Regions from separate parts of the Homo sapiens genome. Here region 1 is linked to region 2. The links are contacts of gene promoters, found by promoter capture Hi-C in human tissues and cell types (Jung and others, 2019). All regions are on one chromosome and are shown on one strand. The core of a region is centred on a gene start or on the middle of the fragment in contact, and the rest is flanking DNA. Distances in the headings are between cores, read along the strand shown. Region 1 overlaps KCNN3 (potassium calcium-activated channel subfamily N member 3). Region 2 holds the start of DCST2 (DC-STAMP domain containing 2).

The links. The method cuts DNA at HindIII sites, captures the fragments that hold promoters and counts their contacts. A contact is called where the count stands out against the background at its distance.
Region 1: a contact is called between a fragment that was not itself captured here and the fragment with the promoter of DCST2 in region 2, in 2 of the 25 tissues and cell types used here (dorsolateral prefrontal cortex and spleen).

The regions. Positions count from the first base shown.
Region 1 is chr1:154,825,477-154,828,176 of GRCh38, forward strand. The region is part of intron 1 of KCNN3 (potassium calcium-activated channel subfamily N member 3); the gene reads right to left. Among named protein-coding and RNA genes, the nearest start is that of KCNN3, 43 kb to the right of the region's middle. The HindIII fragment of the contact is 4,353 bases long and covers 1-2,700 here.
Region 2 is chr1:155,032,529-155,035,228 of GRCh38, forward strand. It overlaps DCST2 (DC-STAMP domain containing 2), which reads right to left and starts at 1,253. Exons shown (of 15, transcript NM_144622.3): 1 at 906-1,253; 2 at 566-736; 3 at 139-240. The coding sequence starts at 1,173. It overlaps DCST1 (DC-STAMP domain containing 1), which reads left to right and starts at 1,296. Exons shown (of 17, transcript NM_152494.4): 1 at 1,296-1,326; 2 at 1,444-1,569; 3 at 1,907-2,032; 4 at 2,125-2,199. The coding sequence starts at 1,509. The HindIII fragment of the contact is 8,066 bases long and covers 1-2,700 here.

The DNA of each region.
Region 1 (2,700 bases), core at 76-2,575, 210 kb before region 2:
TGCCTCAGTCTCCCCAGCAGCTGGGACTACAGGCGCCCGCCACTACACCCGGCTAATTTTTTTGTATTTTTAGTAGAGATGGGGTTTCACCGTGTTAGCCAGGATGGTCTCGATCTCCTGGCCTCAAGTGATCCACCCGCCTCGGCCTCCCAAAGTGCTGGGATTACAGGCGTGAGCCACCGCGCCCAGCTGAGAGTCATGTTTTAAAGTCATTTATTCCTAAATGCCCACAAATTTTCAAGTGGTTAAGTAGATTTGAGATCAGGCAGTGATGGAACACTACGCAGCCACTAAAAACACTTCTGCACACGGCCGTAATCCCAGCACTTTGGGAGGCCGAGGTGGGCAGATCACGAGGTCAGGAGATCGAGACCATCCTGGCTAACACAGTGAAACCTCATCTCTACTAAAAACACAAAAAATTAGCGGGACGTGGTGGCAGGCGCCTGTAGTCCCAGCTACTCGGGAGACTGAGGCAGGAGAACGGCATGAACCCGGGAGGCGGAGCTTGCAGTGAGCCGAGACAGTGCCACTGCACTCCAGCCTGGGTGAAGAGCGAGACTCCATCTTAAAAAAAAACAAAAACAAAAACAAAAACAAAAACAAAAACAAAAAAAACCAAAAAACACTTCTGCAGACAATATCTGAAGACATGGAGAATGGTTGATGATAGACTATTAAGTGATAAACTCAGACCCCAAAACGATATGTAGTATATTTCCAATTATTTCATTTTTAAGCTTTTTTAGTGTAGAAAAAGACTGAAAATATGTCAATAGAATTCCTAAGAGCTGCCTCCATCCATGTGGTCCCTGTTCTGCTCCAGGCCACGAGCCAGCCCTTCACAGATCTGTGATTTCTCATTGATGACAATAATCTGTAATAAAGCACATCTATAGGGGCCTACCATGCAAGGATGGCATTGTCAACCCACTCTTACAGAGGAGAAAGCTTAAGCTCTCAGAAGTTAGGTAACTTGTCCAAGGGCATGTTACCTAACTTCTCACCATGGCAAAGCCAGGATTTGCAAAAGCCAGGTTTTACACCCAGATCTGTCTGCCTCCAGGTTCCATTGCCCCGCCTGTGTCCCAGCACCCCACCTGCTCTGGCGGCCACGCCTTGCTGGCCCTCCAATATCTGCAGCGAGGCTTCTTAGAGCTGTTCCAGCCTTTCCTCCCCTGAGGCTGTGCAGAGGGTGATGGAGTGTGTTCCCCAGCTTCTGAGCCAGCCACATAAATTGCTCTCCTGGCCTGCCTTGTAGCTTCCAAAAACAGGCCAGAACTGTAATGATTATGGTATATCTTCCCAGAGACTTTGAAGTTCTAAATGTATTTTATTGTTTGGGTCATCGCAAAAAGGAGAAAGCTATGCTTACAGACAGAGACCTGGAGGGGCACTGAACCAAACTGAAATATTAGCTTAACTGAGATAATGATGCGCAGGCTCCTTCCCCAACCAAGCTGTTACCCACAAAGAGTATATGTGTATGGTTGTGTGTGTGTGTGTTTATACACATATGTGGTCCATTCACGATTTCTGTCACTGGCTGAAACCCCCAAAGGGAAAAGGTGATAGTATCTGAAGTTCATAATTTCTGAATTAAGGTCTGATGTGCCTGCCTGACATCACTATGTTTTGTGCATTCAATCTGGGAAATAATTGATTTAGAAATCTTTTCTATCTAATAAGGTCAACTTTTCCTTCAATTTCATGGAGAGGCTCCAAAATTGATTGATATTCAACATCGGCTTATGACTGTGGTTCTGTAATGGTTGTCCTAATTAGATACTCTTGCTAATTAATGCTATGCAAATTAAACCAGCCCCTCTTCCGCTAAAGGGAAGACCGCATCACTGGTCGCTGTTCTCCATGGAGACCTGAGGCTTCTTTCCCTCCACATCAGCACCAAGCCCTGGCCTTCCTCATTCCTCAATCTCACACTGTCCAGTTCTTGGGATCTTTCATTCTTACCCATCATCCTCAGCTCCTATCTTAGCACAGCCTCCTCCTCCCAGGTGCAGCACCCTAATTTAATTGCAAGCCCAGGCGTGGTGGCTCACGCCTGTAAGTCCAACACTTTGGGAGGCCAAGGCAGGTGGATCACTTGAGGTCGGGAGCTCAAGACCGGCCTGGCCATCATGGTGAAACCCCATCTCTACTAAAAATACAAAAATTAGCTGGGCATGGTGGTGCAAGCCTGTAGTCTCAGCTTCTCAGGAGGCTGAGGCAGGAGAATGGCTTGAACCCAGGAGGCAGAAGTTGCAGTGAACCGAGATCACACCACTGCACTCCAGCCTGGGAGACAGAGCAAGACTCTGTCTCAATAATAATAATAATAATAACAACAACAATAATAATAATAATTGCAGCTGTTGGCCCTCCCAGCATCCTCAGAGCGGCTTCCCAACCTGGCTCCTACCAGAAGTCAGCTAACAGAATCCTGTTTCAGTCACTAATGAATGAAGTGACAGAATGAAGTCACTCAGACCCTCTCTCTCCCAGGACTGTCCAACCTGAGACCGGGAGAGACAGCCGATGCTGTCACAGTGGGAAGGGAGACTCTGGGGACTCCAGAGGGCAGCTGGACCTCTGACCAGCCTGAGAAGGGAGAAGGGCCTGATACTTGCTAGCCAAGACAGCTCTGGAACAGAGGCCCAGGGTGTGCATCCGAGGGCGCAGGAGTCTCAGCCTCCTCCATAG
Region 2 (2,700 bases), core at 3-2,502:
CTGGTCTCAAACTCCTGGGCTCAAGTGATTCTCCCACCTCGGCCTCGCAAAGTGCTGGGATTACAGGCATGAGCCACCGCACCCGGCCAGGACTGGGTGCATTTTGAGTCCCCGGGATAGACATGCTAATGTGCTTACCTATGTGTTTCACACCATCCATGATTGACCGAAAGAACTTGCGGACCCGGTCAGCCACCTCTTTGGTCTTCCGGGCAATAGCTTTAATCTTGTTCAGGGCACCTGATGGGTGAGGGACAGAGGCACTTTGGAGTCTTCTCCTCTAGGGGCTGGTTCTCACCATTGCCCCTTAAGCAGGGAGTAGAGAGGAGGCCACCATTTCCAGAGGCGGGAAGCCTGGATTCTGGGGCCTGGGAGATCGTTAATCTGGGAGTGGAGGAGGCCAGAGAGCAAGGAGAGAGGGTTTAGCTGTGCCCAGAGTCCCTTCCAGGCCCAGATGCTCCGCGATTAGCACCAGCAGAGAAGGAGGCCAAAGGACTGTAGAACATGCAGGATGAGGGGGGCGAGGGGGGCCCGTGGGAGACAGTGGTAGAGGTGGGGGACTTACTGACAAGAGGTTGCTTGGCCCTCTGTAGCACTTCGGCGGTCTGGTTCAGGGCCAGCTCTGCCCCACAGGCTACAGCCTCGCTGGCCCGGGTGAAGTTGCGTAGAGTGTTGGCACAAGGCCCTTGAAGCACCAACCCAAAAGCAGCCACCAACAGTAGTGTCCGGCCCTGCCCTGGGGGCGACAGCTTTGTTAGAACCAAGACCCCAGCCCCAAACATGGCAGCAAGTCCCTTACATAAGCCTTCAGAATATTTCCCTTAACCCCTGCCTCTCCTCCAGCATCTCTTCTGCCCCAGCACCAGCCCCAGGACCTGCCCCCTAGCCCTGGGTGCCAAGCTCACTGGAGAAGGCCTGAGGCAGCAGCAGGAGGACAGTGGCTCGGACCTGGCGAGAGAATCCCATGCCCAGGCTAAGGAAGGCAGCCAAAGTGAGGGTGCCCACCAGGCAACCCCAGGGGCTGTGGCCTTCCACCAGTAGCTCCAGAAGCCCGTAGGCCGTGGCTAAAGACAAGCCCAGGGTAAAACCTCCCACGCTGCGAACCACAGCTCTCGCCATGCTAGGCTCCTCTCCCCCCAAGGGGTGCACAACATCCTTCATGACTTTGGGCATGGCTGCTGAGACCAAATGTCTGCCTGTCTCCAGGAGATGCCCGCTGACTTCTGTGCTCCTGGAATTTCTCACCGTATTCTAAGGTTCCAAAGGGCTTTCACTGCATATGTCTTGGAATCCTTGACCCAGTTCCGAGGACTGGAGAGGGGATAGGTAGGTCTCTAATCTCCTTCCCCACTTCTCGGAGCAGAAGGATTAAAAGGCCCAGAGCTCAGGCCTAGGCTTCCCATGAAGCGGAAGAGACAGGCAGCACCTCTCTTCTCTCACCAGAACCTTGTGTCCAAGGAGGTCCTTCAGGAGACCTGGGATGAGTGGTGCTTCCCCAAAACAGACTCATGGACATTAAACATCATCAGAATGGCACAAGAGGGCAAAGAAGAAAACAGCCTCATACCAGTGAGTCACTCAGCAGAGACCCAGTATCCCTTGACCTCCACTCTCATCCCATCTCTCCTCCTGGAACTCCTGCACACTATCCCCCAACTCGGTGTCCGCGCCTCCACCACCTCTCTGGTCTAGTGCCTCCCGCCTCCCAGCCCAGCCCTTGCCTTTGCTGTCCCTTACACCCATACCACTTCCTCAGGCTCCCTCATCCTCCTCCAGGGTCCCCTAAGTTCCTACTGTTTCACATGCCAGGTTTCCCCAGCCTCTATCCACCTGCAAGCCCTGAATCCTAATGAGCCCCATCCCAGGCAGAAGAGTGGGCTGTTGAGCTACCCTGTCCCCCTCTTAGCGGTGCAGAGGCTCCTGACCTGGGGGCTGCCAGTCTCCTGTAGCTGGTTCCTGTGGCGCCAGCCGGGCGAGTTTCCTGTCACTGCTCTCCTGCTGGGGGCAGGCGCTGGGGGGCTCCTGGCCATAGGTGAGTGTGGAAGCAGAAAGTTCGGGGTGGGCAGAGGCTGGACCAGGGCTAGGACCCATCTTTTGGCCTTTGGCTTGACCTTGTGCCCTTAGGTCTCTTTCAGCTCCTGGTGAACCCCATGAACATCTACGAAGAACAGAAGATTATGTTCTTGTACAGCTTGGTGGGTTAGTGCTGGGCAAAAGCCAGGAACACTCAAGCGGCCTGTGGAACACAGCGCCGTCCTGCATGCCCAGGAAGGAGTCGGGACTTGTTTCTTCTGTACCCATACATCCCCTGTGGCTTCCGCCTCCTCCTGGGCTTTACGGGGAGGTCCAGAGGGAAGAGGCTGCCAATTTAAGAAGGAAGACACCGTCCTTGCCCTGAGGGAGTCTCTCCATTCCGAGGGACTCCCCATCACCCACATGATATAGTCCAACCCCATAACCCTTCATAACTCTCATCTCTCCTGACCTGTCTGACCTCGTTTTCTGATCCTCCTAAGAAATTAAATTCATTCATTCATTCATTCATTCACTCAGCACTTACTGAGAATCTGCTGAGGATTTAGCAGTAAACAAGGATGACAAGCATCCAGCCGTTTTGCTTTGGTTTTGTTTGTATGTTTTTGTTTTCGTTTTGAGACGGAGTCTCGCTCTGTTGCCCAGGCTGGAGTGCAGTGGCTCAAT